Regions from separate parts of the Homo sapiens genome. Here all the other regions are linked to region 2. The links are contacts of gene promoters, found by promoter capture Hi-C in blood cells and fetal thymus (Javierre and others, 2016). All regions are on one chromosome and are shown on one strand. The core of a region is centred on a gene start or on the middle of the fragment in contact, and the rest is flanking DNA. Distances in the headings are between cores, read along the strand shown.

The links. The method cuts DNA at HindIII sites, captures the fragments that hold promoters and counts their contacts. A CHiCAGO score of 5 or more calls a contact.
Region 1: a fragment that was not itself captured here is called in contact with the fragment with the promoter of SLC26A2 in region 2 in 3 of 17 cell types (erythroblasts, M1 macrophages and megakaryocytes); the score reaches 6.3 in erythroblasts.
Region 3: a fragment that was not itself captured here is called in contact with the fragment with the promoter of SLC26A2 in region 2 in 4 of 17 cell types (M1 macrophages, M0 macrophages, M2 macrophages and 1 more); the score reaches 8.3 in M1 macrophages.
Region 4: a fragment that was not itself captured here is called in contact with the fragment with the promoter of SLC26A2 in region 2 in 2 of 17 cell types (erythroblasts and megakaryocytes); the score reaches 6.5 in erythroblasts.
Region 5: a fragment that was not itself captured here is called in contact with the fragment with the promoter of SLC26A2 in region 2 in 14 of 17 cell types (M2 macrophages, M0 macrophages, M1 macrophages and 11 more); the score reaches 15.6 in M2 macrophages.

What each region holds. Positions count from the first base shown.
Region 1 is chr5:149,596,011-149,599,455 of GRCh38, reverse strand. ARHGEF37 (Rho guanine nucleotide exchange factor 37) reads right to left here. Exons shown (of 13, transcript NM_001001669.3): 2 at 1,501-1,697. The coding sequence starts at 1,686. Among named protein-coding and RNA genes, the nearest start is that of ARHGEF37, 16 kb to the right of the region's middle. The HindIII fragment of the contact is 1,095 bases long and covers 1,414-2,508 here.
Region 2 is chr5:149,959,255-149,962,534 of GRCh38, reverse strand. It overlaps SLC26A2 (solute carrier family 26 member 2), which reads right to left and starts at 1,777. Exons shown (of 3, transcript NM_000112.4): 1 at 1,556-1,777. RefSeq lists a silencer at 1,722-1,841 and enhancers at 2,882-2,961, 2,758-3,280. The HindIII fragment of the contact is 4,280 bases long and covers 1-3,280 here.
Region 3 is chr5:149,617,674-149,621,026 of GRCh38, reverse strand. It overlaps ARHGEF37 (Rho guanine nucleotide exchange factor 37), which reads right to left. Exons shown (of 13, transcript NM_001001669.3): 6 at 2,721-2,851; 7 at 1,985-2,089; 8 at 563-673. Among named protein-coding and RNA genes, the nearest start is that of ARHGEF37, 38 kb to the right of the region's middle. RefSeq lists enhancers at 2,669-2,938, 3,069-3,198. The HindIII fragment of the contact is 5,427 bases long and covers 1-3,353 here.
Region 4 is chr5:149,668,037-149,671,490 of GRCh38, reverse strand. No RefSeq gene overlaps it. Among named protein-coding and RNA genes, the nearest start is that of PPARGC1B, 61 kb to the left of the region's middle. The HindIII fragment of the contact is 4,581 bases long and covers 1-3,454 here.
Region 5 is chr5:149,639,348-149,642,400 of GRCh38, reverse strand. LOC124901104 reads left to right here and starts at 920. Exons shown (of 3, transcript XR_007058990.1): 1 at 920-1,129; 2 at 1,253-1,402. The HindIII fragment of the contact is 4,395 bases long and covers 1-3,053 here.

The DNA.
Region 1 (3,445 bases), core at 712-3,211, 360 kb after region 2:
AATAAATAAATAAATAAATAAGTTTGCCTTGGGCTTTCCTGGGTGAGCCGAGCCTTGCCCTGGCCTTTTGGGTTCCCCTGCCTGAGGGCCTGCAGGGGCTGTGGTTGGAGACCTGAGGAGGGGACAGAGCCCAGCCCCTCTCCTGTGGCTGAGCAGGCCTCTGTGTCCATGACACCTGTCTTCGGGGGCCTGGGGGCTGTGGGCGTATGTCCTCCCTGCTGGCTCCCCCAGCCCCTGCTGCTTGATGCTCTTGGAACTCTTCCCTAAGGAGTCAGTCCCCTAGAGGCCTATCAGGGAATCCTTTTGTATCTGCACTTTGGGTTTTAGTTTCAAAGCTCCATCAGGTACAGCTCACGTTTCAGGATGTGTGGAAAGCTTGAGTGAGGGCTCCCCTGGTTTGTCCTAGTTCCACCTTCCTTAGAGGGAGAAGGCTGTTGCAGACCCCCATCCATGCCACACCAGCTCAGCACTGCACATCTCAAGGTGATTCCCAAGACAGCTGGTGCCTCCTGGCCTTCCTGCACCAGGCCAAGGGGCACCTCAGAGGATGCTGGATCCTTTGCCTCTTCTTGATTGAGGGATCTCTCTATATATGAATGTGTGTATATAAATATAAATATACATATATATATACACACACACACACATATATATATCTATATATCTATATCTATATATCTATATCTATATCTATATCTATATATAGATATATATATATGAGATTTATTTTTTCTGGAATTCTGTTAGAAAAGTAAAGAAAAAGCAAATGCTATTGATTTATCTCAGGGTACCCAAAGAGGTTGTAGTCAATTTTTGGTACTAGGAAAGGCAGCAAATGCATTTCCTGACTTTTAAGCATTTCCTTGTTGGAAGCCATAGAGGGCCAGGCCAAGTCGCTGACAGTGACTTTGTGATCGAATAAAGAGACCCTTGAAGGGGAAGCAGGAAAAAAAGAAGAAGAGGAGGAAGAAGAAGAAGAGGAAAAAGAAAGAAGAGGAAGAAGAAAGAAGAGGAAGGAGAAGAAGGAGAAGGAGAAGAAGGAGAAGAGGAAGAGGAAGGAGAGGAAGAGGAAGAAGAGGAAGAGGAAGAAGAGGAAGAGGAAGAAGAAGAGGAAGAGGAAGAGGAAGAAAGAAGAAGAAGAAGAAGAAGAAGAAGAAGAAGAAGAAGAAGAAGAAGAAGAAGAAGAAGAAGAGTCAGTTTAAGCAATCTGTTCCAAACTTGAAAAGGGCTTGTTCATTAGCTCACATAGGTCTCCCAGTGATTATTCCGCTCACCAGTTAGCCAAGGAATACACTAAGACTCTAAGCCATGGAAGACCTTGATGGAGGTTGCACGGCCAAGGAAAAGAAGTACTGGGGCTTACATCCAGGTCTGTCAGACTTCACATCTACCACGCTTCCTTTCTGTCAAGCTTGCCCCAGGAATGGATGAGAAATCTCAGAAGCTGGGACCCACATTTGCCCCTATAAAGACAGGTTGTGTGTGACCCCACCCAAGTACCTGCTGGAGGCGGCTCCTGATGTCAGAGGCACAGAGCTGGAGCATGTGCAAGTAGGAGACCTCAGTGTCGATGAGCTCCCGGACAGCCAGCCTCTGATGAAGCAGCGATCTGTCCTCAGAGGCCCTACCTTCCCTGTCCGGACTCCCTGACCTGGAGGATGGCTCGTCGGCTCCATGCTTGGCCATGTCAGCAGGTTCTGGGAAAAGCAAAAGCATCCCCACTCACTTCCAGGAAGAACTATTGGGACATGCTGTCTCTAATTCAATGACAATTACTCATCAAGAGGCCTAAAAACATCTTAAGCTGCAAACAGAGTCAAGATGAACTGTTTATTAGCATTTGTAGGCAGTACCTGAACAATATTGAAAGGCAGGTAACAGCTCTGATAACTCTTGACATTTTAGGTGGTGGCTCATGCCTGTAATCCCAGCACTTTGGGAGGCCAAGGTGGGCAGATCACCTGATGTCAGGAGTTCGAGACCAGCCTGGCCAACATGATGAAACCCCGTCTCTACTAAAAATACAAAAATTAGCCAGGCATGGTGGCGGGCTCCTGTAGTCCCAGCTACTCAGATACGCTGAGGCAGAAGAATCACTTGAACCCGGGAGGCAGAGGTTGCAGTGAGCCAAGATCACACCACTGCACTCCAGCCTGGGCAACAGAGCAAGATTCTTACAAAAAAAATTTTTTTTTAATAGATAATTCTTGACATTTTGAATTCATTTCCCAGGACCCAGACAACATGCTTGCCTGGCTTTTCTTCTATTTCCAATCCAGCTCTTGACCTAGATTTCTTTATCTGGTACAGCTGAATCTCTTTCACCCTCTCCCAGTGGTCCCCCTACACCCCATCCCACCAGCTACCCCATTTAGGCCTTACTACCCATCGCCTGGGCTATTTCCACAGCCCTCAGAGTCATCCTTCCTAATCCACACTGCTCTCCTGCCACCACCACACCCATTCTTTCTGGACACATTTCCAGTTTAAACTCCCTGAAACAAAGCTTGTGAACATGGTGTGCCCTGCTGTAAGACTTTAGTAGCTTCCTGCTGCTCAGTGATCTGATTCCAACCTCATTTCCCCTTCACAGACTGCACTCCAGGCTCTAACTTCATTTCCTCTTCACAGGTTGTACTGCAGTGGAAAGAGAGTTGAGCGCTCTTCTCCATACTTGCATTGGCATTTCCTGCTTTTGCACTTGCCATGCCCCCTCCTGTGTTCCTATCCCCCAGCATTCACTTCTCTAAGGCTACTCTTGATCCTCCCCTCATTTCTCACTCCCACCAGCTGCACTTTTCTTCTCTGAAACTCCTGCAATCCTTTATCTCTAACTTATAAAGTATCAAGGGCCCGGGTGCGGTGGCTCACGCCTGTAATCCCAGCACTTTGGGAGGCTGAGGTGGGCAAACCACCTGAGGTCAGGAGTTCGAGACCAGCCTGGCCAACATGGTAAAACCGCATTTCTACTCAAAATACAAAAATTAGCCGGGTGTGGTGGTGCACACCTGTAATCCCAGCTACTCGGGAGGCTGAGGTAAGAGAATCACTTGAACCCAGGAGGTGGAGGTTGCAGTGAGCCGAGATTGTGCCACTGCCCTCCAGCCTGGGTGACAGAGCAAGACTCCATCTCAAAATAATAATAAAGCGTAAAGGGCAATACCATGGACAAGATGATCTGAAAAACTTTCCTACTACAAAACACTTAGGAATGCTAGATCAGTTATAATAAACTTTTTAACTGCATGACAGATCTTGTAAGGGAGGAAAAGAAATCACTAGGGCCCTCAAACAGGGAATTGAAAACTACGGTGGGGAGCAGCTGAGCTGATGCAGCTGTGGCCCAAAGTAGAGGGGTGGGTAAGGAAGACAGTATTTGAAACTCAGTGAACCAGAGACTTGGGCATTAGTGCCCAGGTAGGAATAGGAGACAAGCTCCTTCACA
Region 2 (3,280 bases), core at 528-3,027:
AAACACCATCTCTACAAAAACTACAAAAACTAGCCAGGTATGGCAGCGTGCACCTGTGGTTCCAGCTACTCAGGAAGCTGAGGTGGAAGGTTTGCTTGAACCCACGAGGTCAATGCTGCAGTGAGCCTAGATCGCGCCCCTGCACTCCTAGCCCGGATGACAGAGTAAGACCTGGTCTCAAAAAAAAAAAAAGTCAAATCAGAAATTAAAAAAAAGTGATTTTTTTCCCTCAAAAATTACCCCTAGCCCAGAGTATGTTCACCTCTAGATCTTCCCCTAGGAGGCAGCACATTACAGTACAATAATTGTCAAATACAGAGAGCCGTTAGCTTCTTAGGACCATCCCTGCAAATCCAAGGATGAGATCCAGGACTCCACACGCTAGATGATGCTGAACGAGTGAGCTTAGGACCACACTTGGAGAATCACTGGATGTGTTCTGGAAGTCAAACAGATCTCTGTTCAGATCCCAGCTATACTGCTCAGCAGTCATATGGCAATGGTTTTGTAAAACTTCACTGTACTCAGCATCAATTTCTGACCTGTAAAATGGGGTAACATTACCTAACTTGCTGGTTTGTAAGGCTAACACAACTACCTACCACAGTGCCTGGCACATAGCATTTACTCAATAAACGACAGCTATTAGTCTCTGTCCCTTGCTATATCCTGCCTTGAGATTCCTGATTTTAAAGGGTCCATTCCTTTCCCACAGCTTTGGCCCTCCATTTCTTATTGATTCAATTTTCAAAAACAAAAAGTTCTGCTTAATCTAGTATTGCATATCACATTAGTTGTAGATTTCACATAAAGAACTGTTGGGGACAAGGAGAAAAGACAGGTTAACTAGAATGGGCGCCGGAAGGCAATTTAAGTTCTGAATGTTTCTAACTCACTGTGATCCCCAATCTGTGCAAGGAAGGAGCCCAGGCTGATAGTCTATGAGTTTGGAGAGCTGGGTACAAGTCCTAGCTCTGCAAAAGACTTGCTGTGTATTTTTAGGCAAGGCTCTGGGCCCTCTCTGTCTTCTCAGTGTTTCCATCCATCCAGTGAAATAATACCAACTTAGTGTGTGAGTCCGAAAGAACAGGTCCTGATTTTGTACTTAATCGGGTGTGTGATTTTTAATAACCAAGATAACCAAGCCGTCTCGCCTGTGCCGGCCTCAGTTTCCCCATCTGTCCGAGGTGGTGGTGGCTCCTATCTCCTCGATCCCTATTCCAGATATCTAGGTTCGAGACGGATCAACGAGGACTGGAAAAGCAGCGGAGTGCGTGGCACCCGGCGAGATACGGCGAGATACGCGGGATGGAGGGCGGGTGGGCAGCCGCCAGCCAGACGGGCAGGCCCGGATCACCAGGGTGCAGTGCCACTCGCCCGGCCCCGGACCACCCGGGAAATAACCTGACGCACGCCCCGCTCCACGGCGGCGACCCCTGATCTGGGATTCTACCGCGCGGGGACCCAGGCAGAATGACTCTGGGAGGGGCCCGCTGACCGCTTGGCGGCCAGCACCGCTCCCTCCCTCTTCCCTGGTCCGCTTCCCTCTTCTCACCTCTCGGGTCCGGGCCGCTGCAGGCAACCAGGCGCCGCGGCACGCGTCTTCCACCGTGGCCTGACTGAGGTGGACACCGCGGCGCCGACAGAGCTATACCTGCCTGTCCCTTTCCCCGCCCATCGCTCGGACTCCGAAGGAGGCGGGGCCCGGCTGCCGGGACCTACGGGCGCGGCGAGGACGCACCGGCGAAGAGATGCCGGAGGCAGAGCCAGTGTAAACGCCCGCGGCCGAGGCCGTCACGTGGTACTGCCGGGCGAGCGACGCTACCACCAGCCAATAACTCGGCCCAGACCGGGGAGGGTGCCGCCCTCTGACTACTCTCCTCCTCGCGATTGGCTGCCCTGGACAGAAGAGCACAAGCTGGAAGGATTCTTAGAGAGGTTCCGCCGCTGCTTCCGTGGCGTTGACTCCTCCGCGGAGAGAGCGGATGACCGGCCTCGGCGGCTAGCCTGTGGCCAGGGTGAAATAGCAGGAGAGGCGCGGAAGCGCTCTGCCCAGAGTTTTGAAGTGCTCAGCGTTTGCGATCGGCCACCTCTTTATCCAGTACTACTTGGGACCCCGTTCCCTCCCACCCGCCTTTGTAGAACGGGAAATTGAGGCCCCGAACGGGAAAAGAGCTCCTAGAATGTTAGAGGCTCTTGCCTCACTATAACTCATTCCCCATCAAAGATTCCAGTAACCGGAAGGCTAAAATGTAAATTAAAAGGCCGGGCGCAGCGGCTCACGCTTGTAATCCCAGCACTTTGGGGGACCGAGTAGGGAGGATCGCTTGAACCCAGGGGTTCGAGATCAACCTGGGCAGTATAGCCGAACCTTGTCTCTATAAAACATAAAATGTAAATTAAAATGTAATTGTAGTTTTTGTTAAAATCCTTAGTGGGTTTAATGGCATTTGTAGGTAAAATCAAACCCTCCCTATGCCAAGGTACTGTGTGCTTCGGGCACTCATCTCTGCCCCCCTCCCTCGCTGATCTCCACCCATACTGGCCCCCTTTGCTCGCCACGCTTGTTCTCTTTAGGGACCTAAACATTGGTTCTGGCCATCAGATTTCTTCTGGTCTCTCAGGTCTCAGCCAAAACACCAGCCCTCTCCATGGCGAGGCCGTCCCTGACCACCCTGTGTAAACTAGCCACAGCCAGTCACATCCTTTCAGGTCATCTTGATTTAATTATCTGCCTCGAACTGGCCACTATTGAGTATGTATTAATTTGTTCATTCCTCACCTTGTTTGTAGCTTGCATGTGCCCACTAGATGGGGGTGAAGGAGGGCCTGTGAAGGAAGCATGATTAACTTCCTTTCCTTCCCTTTCCGGTGAACGTCTTCACAGTCATTCAAGGAACTCCCTTTCTTATCTAGAGATGATCCCCAAGTTTCTGTCACCCATCAGATTCAGAGTTTCCAAAACGTCATAAGCTGTCTTGGGAATCAGAACACAAACACTTGGGTTCTACTCCTGATGCTGCCCCTTGTGGCTGAAGACAAATCATTTCACCTCAATGGGCATCAATGTTTTCACCTTTCAAAGGGTAGTTAATGCCCTAGCACCCAGAGTCCTGGAGAGGGTCAGGTAAGGCAATCAGTGTAAAGTACTTTGTTTAAGCCCTAAAGACTGCACAACAAGCAGAATAAACAGTTTCTGGATGTTTATCACGTGCCTGCGCAGAACTCTTCACATTCATTACATGAGTTAATCCTCACAACAGCTTTAGAGGAGGTGCCA
Region 3 (3,353 bases), core at 168-2,667, 340 kb after region 2:
AAAACCATATGGTGAGGATTAAATGATGTAAGGAATATAAAGGGCTTAGCATAGAGCCTGGCAGATAGTGAGGCTCAATAAATGTTAGTGGGGGCTATTTTTATCAGGAAAGTGCACTAATAATAATCTCTATGCTGCTGACCACTCAGGAAGATTACAGATGTGGCAATTGTGTAAAGTGCCTGACTTCTTTTTTTGAGAAGGAGTCTCACTCTGTCTCCGGGCTGGAGTGCGGTGGCATGATCTCGGCTCACTGCAACCTCTGCCTCCTGGGTTCAAGCAATTCTCCTGCCTCAGCCTCCTGAGTAGCTGGGACTACAGGTGCACACTGCCATGCCCGGCTAATTTTCTGTATTTTTAGTAGAGACGGGGTTTCATCGTATTGCCCAGGCTGGTCTCAAACTCCTGAGCTCAGGCAATCTGCCTGCCTCGGCCTCCCAAAGTGCTGGGATTACAGGCGTGAGCCACCACGCCTGGCCAAAGTGCCTGACTTCTAAATATTATTCTTGTAAGCTCTACCACCTGCCTAACAAAGAAAGGAGAAAGGAAAGGTTCCACTCACAAATTTCAGGAAGGCCTCAAGGTGAAGGTCTCTTGCCAAATTGCAATACTGCACTGCAGGCCCCTCGGGGATGTCCAGATTGTATTCGTGCGGCCTGAAGTAGAGGAAAGCCTGGACCCAGTACCAAGGAGAAACATCCAATCATGCCTGTCATGGCCATCTTACGCTGGAATCCCCTTCCACCATACCTTGAAGAGGTTTTCCAGGCTCTCTACACACCCCCAATGAGAGGGACACACACAGCTGATTCTATTCTCACACAGCTTAAGTGATTAGAAAGTTCCGCCTTAGACTGAGTCAACATCTTTCTCCTCATTCCAGTGCTTCTTGAACTTCATACATTTACATGCCACCTTTGTGGGGTTTTTTTCTTTTTCTTTTTTTTTTTTTTTGAGACAGAGTCTCACTCTGTCACCCAGGCTGGTGTGCAGTGGCATGATCTTGGCTCATTGCAATCTCTGCCTCCCAGGTTCAAGCAATTCTCCTGCCTCAGCCTCCTGAGTAGCTGGGACTACAGGCGTGTGACACCTTGCCTGGCTAATGTTTTTCGTATTTTTAGTAGACACAAGGTTTCACCATGTTGACCAGGCTGGTCTTGAACTCCTGACCTCAAGTGATCTTCCCGCCTCGGCCTTCCAAAATTCTGGGATTACAGGCGTAAGCCACTGCACCCAGCAGTGCGTTTGTTTTTTCCCATGTCCATATTCCACATGTTCTATTAATACTTTTCTCTAACTTTTCCTATTTACATCAATGCATTAAAAAAATGCCCCATAGCATTTAAATCTTCATTTAATTAGTTGCTCACATTGACGCATCAGGAGATGTCATCAAAAATCTGAAAAATACCTGAATTTCCAGGTGTGTTTTTCTTAAAGTCAGAAGAACTGGGCCCATATTCTCACCCAGCAACAACCCCCCAGAGCTGAGGAATAGCTGCTCCTTTAGATTTGATTCATGTATTCATTCATTCAGCCCTTCAAATTCCAAATATTATTTTATATTTAAGTTCACTGAAAAGTCTCATAAACAGCCTGTTAGACACTAGGCTCCTATTGCATTGGATTGCCTGTTACCTGCACACTTCACTCAGTAGCATTACCTGCCTGGCCCCTTTAGGCACCTGTTTGTCTCCCCTGCTCTAGGTGCTGGTCTGGCAGAGTTGCTCTGCGGGGCTCTGCTTCCAGTGAATTTTGGCCCTATGTGGTAGGAACTCCAATGGGCTCGGAGCTGCCCCCAGTATAATGGCCTGGGGCTGAGGAGTGCTGGCCAGCATTCTCCAGAAGAGATGAGACAGGATGACCTCATCTGGTTGGTTTCTGAGGCTGGTGCCTTTCCCAGCTTGTAGGCTGGGCCCTGCAAGCCTCCTGCCAGGGGAACCCAGCCCAGACTCGCCCTTTATGAACCCTGCAGTGTCCTCACCTGCAGATTGTCCAGGTAAGCAGCCACGTTGTTCTTCAGCTCAGTCACACACAGAGACACCCACTGGAACCTCTCTTCTAAATCATCAAATTCCTTGTCTTCTGTCTGAAAGTAATGTGTGTGAGGGTTGAGAATATCCACATGGGGGCAGTGTACACCGGCTTCAGTGTTCCAGGTCCTCACTGGGACAACCTTTCCACAGACTCGCCCACCAGAGCTGGTTCTCGCAACCCCAAAGCTGAGAGGGTGGTGTAGCTCAGTGGTTTTACATTCAGAGCATGGAATCGGATACACAAGCATGAGCCCCAGTTCATTGGCTTCCTAGCCGTGTGACTCTGGACAAGGGTTTTACCCTCTCGGAGTTTCTGTTTTCTCATGGGGATAGTGGGAACACTTATTTCATTGTGTGAGCATGCTTGGTTTCAGAGCAGGCACTCCACCAACCTGTGCTGCTAGAAGTAGCTATTTAGGGCTGGTCCTTTGCCCAAACCCAGAGACCAGCTCTCCTATCTGTGTAAATAGGCCCCAAAGAGAGTGGCCCAAGACACTGGAGAAACCCCTCCACTGGCTCTTCAGAATCAAGTGGGGTGCCACCTCTGCCTCTTCCCAGCACCTCAATCTCTCAGCCTCCATTGCCTCAGTTCTGAAAGGAGCCTAAGTCCCCTGTCTACCCACTGTGCAGGGCCTGGCCTTGGGGGTGGCTGGATGTGACTCTTCCTCCCAGGCGCACGCTCACCCTGGGGATCAGCCCCGCCTCCTGCTTCAGCAGCTGGCTCAGCCGGGTGGTCTTCTTGGAGAGGGTGTGTGTGTTGATGCGGGCCAGCCGCTCCCGGAGGGTCAGCTGCTCTACCTTGGTGTACTTGGAGGCTGCAACGACAGAGAAGAGGGGAAGCACGGTGATCAAGCCAACTCAGGAAAGTGGATGTCACGGACATGCCCGGCTGGGCACCTGCTTGGGCCCTCTGCTCCATCAGGGTCACATTCATGAGGTTAGTGAGTCACACAGGAAAAGCATAGGGTCCTCTGTCTGAGGTGTGAGCCCTGGCTGAAGAGCTTCCTGCCTGCTTGACTTTGGGAAGTCACCACTCCTTGGGGCCTCAGTTTCCTCATCTGTAAAATGGGACCAGCCACCTCGCAGGATTGCTGGGAGAGTCACCTAAGACAGAGGGTCTGAATGAACTTCCTAAAGAAGAACCCATGGAGGAGAGATTTGCCTGGGGTCCCTCAGCCACTTTGAGCCAGGCCAGCTGGGAGCCACGCTTCCCGGTCCTGACTCAGTGCTTCCTACTGATCTGTCGTAGGATGGAGAAGCAGGTGGGGAGGAAATCCAAAGCTGCTAAATATAGTATAGCATGGTGGTGAAGACTCC
Region 4 (3,454 bases), core at 291-2,790, 290 kb after region 2:
ACAGAAAATGATTCTCCAAATGACATCATTATTATAATAACAGGTGGGGCTCTCCCTCTCCCTCTCCCTCTCCCTCTCCCCACGGTCTCCCTCTCCCTCTCTTTCCATGGTCTCCCCCTGATGCCGAGCCAAAGCTGGACTGTACTGCTGCCATCTTGGCTCACTGCAACCTCCCTGCCTGATTCTCCTGCCTCAGCCTGCCGAGTGCCTGCGATTGCAGGCGCGCGCCGCCACGCCTGACTGGTTTTCGTATTTTTTTGGTGGAGACGGGGTTTCGCCGTGTTGGCCGGGCTGGTCTCCAGCTCCTAACCGCGAGTGATCCGCCAGCCTCGGCCTCCCGAGGTGCCGGGATGGCAGACAGAGTCGTGTTCACTCAGTGCTCAATGGTGCCCAAGCTGGAGTGCAGTGGCGTGATCTCGGCTGGCTACAACCTCCACCTCCCAGCCGCCTGCCTTGGCCCCACAAAGTGCCGAGATTGCAGCCTCTGCCCGGCCGCCACCCCGTCTGGGAAGTGAGGAGTGTCTCTGCCTGGCCGCCCATCGTCTGGGATGTGAGGAGCCTCTCTGCCTGGCTGCCCAGTCTGGAAAGTGAGGAGCGTCTCTGCCCGGCCGCCATCCCATCTAGGAAGTGAGGAGCGTCTCTGCCCGGCCACCCATCGTCTGAGATGTGGGGAGCGCCTCTGCCCTGTCGCCCCGTCCGGGATGTGAGGAGCGTCTCTGCCCGGCCGCCCCGTCTGAGAAGTGAGGAGACCCTCTGCCTGGCAACCGCCCCGTCTGAGAAGTGAGGAGCCCCTCCGCCCGGCAGCCACTCCGTCTGGGAAGTGAGGAGTGTCTCCGCCCGGCAGCCACCCCGTCTGGGAGGGAGGTGGGGGGGTCAGCCCCCCGCCCGGCCAGCCGCCCCGTCCAGGAGGTGAGGGGCGCCTCTGCCCGGCCGCCCCTACTGGGAAGTGAGGAGCCCCTCTGCCCGGCCAGCCGCCCCATCCAGGAAGGATGTGGGGGGGTCAGCCCCCCGCCCGGCCAGCCGCCCCATCCGGGAGGTGAGGGGCGCCTCTGCCCGGCCGCCCCTACTGGGAAGAGAGGAGCCCCTCTGCCCAGCCAGCCGCCCCGTCCGGGAGGGAGGTGGGGGGTCAGCCCCTGGCCCGGCCAGCCGCCCCGTCCAGGAGGGAGGTGGGGGGGTAGCCCCCCGCCCGGCCAGCCGCCCCATCCGGGAGGTGAGGGGCGCCTCTGCCCGGCCTCCCCTACTGGGAAGAGAGGGGCGCCTCTGCCTGGCCGCCCCTACTGGGAAGAGAGGAGCCCCTCTGCCCGGCCAGCCACCCCATCCGGGAGGGAGGTGGGGGGGGTCAGCCCCCCGCCCGGCCAGCCGCCCCGTCCGGGAGGTGAGGGGCGCCTCTGCCCGGCTGCCCCTACTGGGAAGTGAGGAGCCCCTCTGCCCGGCCACCACCCCGTCTGGGAGATGTACTCAACAGCTCATTGAGAACGGGCCATGATGACAATGTGGAATAGAAAGGGGGGAAAGGTGGGGAAAAGATTGAGAAATCGGATGGTTGCCATGTCTGTGTAGAAAGAGGTAGACATGGGAGACTTTTCATTTTGTTCTGTACTAAGAAAAATTCTTCTGCCTTGGGATCCTGTTGATCTGTGACCTTACCCCCAACCCTGTGCTCTCTGAAACATGTGCTGTGTCCACTCAGGATTGAATGGATTAAGGGTGGTGCAAGATGTGCTTTGTTAAACAGATGCTTGAAGGCAGCATGCTCCTTAAGAGTCATCACCACTCCCTAATCTCAAGTACCCAGGGACACAAACACTGCGGAAGGCCGCAGGGTCCTCTGCCTAGGAAAACCAGAGACCTTTGTTCACTTATCTGCTGACCTTCCCTCCACTATTGTCCTGTGACCCTGCCAAATCCCCCTCTGCGAGAAACACCCAAGAATGATCAATAAAAAAAAAAAAAAGAAAGAAAAAGAAAATTGGAAAGGCTTCAGGATTGTCAGTTAAATATAATTGTTTTTGCCTGGGTCTACTGACAGACAGGTTTACATTGTCTCTATTACTTTTTTTTTTTTTTTTTTTTTTTTTTTTAATTTGTTTTTTGTTTTTGAGCTGGAGTTTTGCTCTCATTGCCCAGGCTGGAGTGCAGTGGTGAGATCTCAGCTCACCACAACTTCCGTCTCCCAGGTTCAAGTGATTCTCCTGCCTCAGCCTTCCGAATAGCTAAACTACAGGTGTATGCCACCATACTTGGCTAATTTTTGTGTTTGTAGTAGAAACAGGATTTCACCATGTTGGCTAGGCTGGTCTCGAACTCCTGACCTCAAGTGATCTGCCCACCTTGGCCTCCCAAAGTGCTGGGATTACAGGCATGGGCCACCGTGCCCAGCCTATTACATGTTTTAAGGTCATAAAACTGCTACTTCTGGAATATTTCTTAAACTTGCTTGATTTGTCTAAATTGAGCTAAAGCTGTAAGGTCTGGCTGCTGGGCTCCCTGAAACCTTGCACATATCTTACTGTATGACTGTATTTCGTTTTGAGTCTCTGGATTCTGGGGTTTGGACAGATGACCATAGTGAGGCCTGCAGAAATATATGCATGTCCTCAGTGTTTGGACTGCCAGCTGCAAGGCAGAGCCAAACCCAATATGGCCCCATCATCCCTGGCTCAGCTGTGCTACCTGGCCATGCTGGAAGGGGTTTGATCTTCCAGGAATTTGCTTCACAGCTCTTTCCTGTCCCAAGCTCTATGCCTGATGTGTAAATTCAGGACCCAAAAGGGCACAAAAAAGCAATAACTACTAAATATAAAGAAAACAACTCTGTATACAGCATGTATAAAGAAAAGCAAGATATATTTGGGGAGATAAAAGTTGTAAAGGCATTAAGATGTGTGTTTGTTGAGAAAAAATAAATTTGTGCATTTAAGAAGTTAAAAAAAAAAATAACAGGTGGGACTGTTGGGGCTTCTAGGAAATTAGCTAGCCATCAGCTTGCTACCTTAGATTCTTGGCATTGTTTAATTTAAATGTTTGGTTTCAATTATTTGTGAGCAAACCAGAATGTTCATGGTATATATTAGTCATTGTGCTGGGTCCAGATGTAAATCATGGCCCTGGGAAGCTGGTATGCTGGGAAGAATAACAACAGTCTGTAAGCCTAGCCTGCTGCCCAGCAGGTACAGGTCAACACTTGTCACCTATCCTGACATTCTCCAGGGATAATTTTTTTTAAAAAATGGCTTTCTACAAGATACACTCGTTGAAAAATAAGCCGACTTGTGTTGGTGATAAAAGGGAAGAGGAAGACAAGTCTAAGTGTGTGTTAGTTCTTAAGCCAAAAAACAGAAGTTTCAGATCAACTGAAGAGTGGAAGATTAGACTCAGTGGTGGCTCAGAGCCTAAAAGTGACAGACTCCACCTAATTCCTAACGAGTAATAAGAAAAAGCAATCTATAAAACC
Region 5 (3,053 bases), core at 461-2,960, 320 kb after region 2:
CCCTCTTAGTAAATTGCAGGTTAGGTGTTTGCAAGCTCCAAGTTGCAGGGTAGGTGTTTATTGTTGATGTTGTACCTTACAGGGGGCTAAAGAAATGTGACCGAATTTTGGGGGGAGGATTATATAATTTAAATTTAATATCTAATTTTATTAAAAATAATGTATTACATGCATATTGTTATCCATTAAGAAAAACAACAAAAAAATTATACCCACAGCATAAATGACAGAAAGTAAATCTGGACAAAGTGCTTTTGGCTGGTAGCTGTGATTTTCAAGGTAGGGGTGGAGGCACAATGCTCCTAAGGGGAGTGCCACACCCTGGAATCTCTGGTGTGGGAGGTGGGATGGGGGTGTGTAAAAAGAAGGGGATGGATGTTGAGATTTTTCCAATTGTGTGTGTGTGTGTATTAATGTGTTTGTATTCTTTTTTTTTTTCTCACTCTGTCACCCAAACTGGTGAGTGCAGTGGTGAGATCTCAGCTCACTGCAGCCTCAGCCTCAGCAGGCTCAAGTGATCCTCCTGCCTCAGCCTCCCGAGTAGCTGGTACCAAAGGCATGTGCCACCATACTCAGCTAATTTTTGTATTTTTTTGGAGAGACGGGGTTTCACCATGTTGCCCAGGCTGGTCTCGAACTCCTGGACTCAAGCAATCCTCCCGTCTTGGCCTCTCAAAGTGCTGAGACTTTAGGTGTGAACCACTGTGCCTGGTCTGTGTTTGCATTTGTATTTTATGGTTGCTGTTCTGACCCATGACTTTTTCGGGGAGCAGGGAGGATGAAAAATGAAAATAAAAGCATTTAGAAAGATGATTAAAAAATTAAAAAACAAAAAAGTAGGGGGAAGGTGCACTCCCACACGCCGGCCAATCAGCTGCAACCGCACCATCAGCAGACCGGGGAGGCGCCTGGAGCCTGCAGTAACTCAAGATGGCCGACTGATCGCCAGAGAGTATTTGAGGACATGGTTACAGTTACGTTCCCAGGGGAACAACCTTTGGCCTCTTAAGACATCTACTTGCTTTCAGTTTTGAAAGAACTCAGGCAGCCATGGGGTATTTTTCAGAATTCCCGGCGGTGAAGGGTCAGAGCCATGGGCATTAGGGAGAAAGCTGAAGGCACAGCGGGTGTGAGTGTGGGGTCGCTGCCTGCAACACTTGGAAGAAATACGGGGAAGGGCGGGGGAGGGATCAAAACTGGCTTGTGTGGCCAAGGATCAAGTTGTTATTAAGCACTTTTATGTGCCTGACAGAGTGCCAAAGTCTCCCGTGATGTATCCTGTGTCCACATCCCAACAACCCCATCGGCAGGACTCTTTCCTGGTTTGCCCACAAGGAGGAAAGTGAGGAAAGTGAGGCGTCAGAGAGATGAAGCAACTTGTTTGAAGGCGGCCACACAGCTGGTAAGTGTGGGGACAGGATTTGAACGAGGGTATTTTGCATGGGAAGTCTGGCCTTCTGGCTACCACCCCACCTCTTCATCCCAAGACACTCTCCCAAGTCTGGCCCCACATGGCTCCCTAAAACCATGCTGTCCTCATATGGGAGGGTTTTAAGCAGCTCTAGGGCAGCCACCAGAGCCCAATACAAAGTCCCTTGCACTGACAGTCATACTCTAACCCTGTGCCCAGTTCTCAATGCTGCCTCCTGCTATGATCTCTGTATCTTTCATCGGCCTGATCTCTCCTTCCCCAGAGCTTAGTGCTTGAACCCCAACCAAAGATTGAAACCCTGCTGCCCACAGTCTGACCTGGCTCTGACCTCTGACCTGCCTGGACACTAGGAGATGCCCATTCCCGTGTCCCACGGCAGCTCCAACTGCCTGATGGACACCTGCTGCCTCCCCCACATCCCTGGGGAGTGTGCCCCAGAATCACCATGCCCTCCCAACTCCCGTGATCCTTCACCTGACTCGGCCCTCTTCTAGCTGGATCTGTGTCCCCAATTCCAGCCCTGCCCCAGGGGAGAGGCCTGGGGCTCCATCCAGACCACTAGTCTCATGACAGCCCAACAGCGTGAGGCCCATGGCAGCTGGCTGCTGTTGAGACTTGTGTTTGGTCTTTTAGCTTGCAGCTCTTGAGAGCTTCCTATGTGCCAGGCATTGAATTAGTCCTGTAAAGTGGATTCCCTCGTTTAACCTCAAACAGCCTTGTGAGTAGTGAATAGATGCTGCAGTTATTGCTATTAACGTGCTGCTCTATTCCCACACCAGAGGCTCTACTGATGTGCCCAGGAGCCCTGAGACCCCAAGACCAGCAGCTTCTGCCCTGGCCAGAAGCCCCATCCCACTTCCCATTTCCCAAACCTGGGGCTCACTGCCCCTTCTGAGTAGGGGCCAGACACATGCTGCTGAGGCATCATGGCTAGAAAATTGTGTTTCCTCCTCCCCTCCCCCAGGGCTGTAGGGCCTGGCCCTTCCCCAAACCCTGGCTCTGCACTGACACAGTGCCCTTGGATTTCCTCTGTGTTTGTCTGCTCTGGGCCTGGCAGTAATGGTCTCAGCCAGCCAAGACTGGGGCAGCTCAGCAGACTACCACAGCCACTGATACTGGAGCATGACCAGCTCAGTTCTTCTGGGACTGAAGACATTCCAAGAGCTCCATGTAGGAATGGCTGACAGCCCCCTGAACCAGGGAAGGTGCAGACAGACCTAGAGATGATTTCCATTGTTCCCCAAGGGCTGGGCTGCCTGAGGGACCAGGTACCAGGGAGGTGCCAGGGATCCCATAGCACCAAGACCCAGCCCCTCCCTGCAGCCCTGGCTTCTGAGTGGTATTTTGCTGTCCAGTCAGAAAGCAGAAACTACTCTATGCATTAGAACAGAAGGAATTTGGGCTGAGCGCGGTGGCTCACACCTGTAATCTTTGCACTTTGGGAGGCCTAGGTGGTCAGGAATTCCTGAGGTCAGGAATTCGAGACCAACCCGGCCAACATGGTGAAACCCTGTCTCTACTAAAAATACAAAAATTAGCCAGGAATGGCGGCGGGCACCTGTAATCCCAGCTACTCAGGAGCCCGAGGCAGGAGAATTGCTTGAACCTGAAGGAGCTGAAG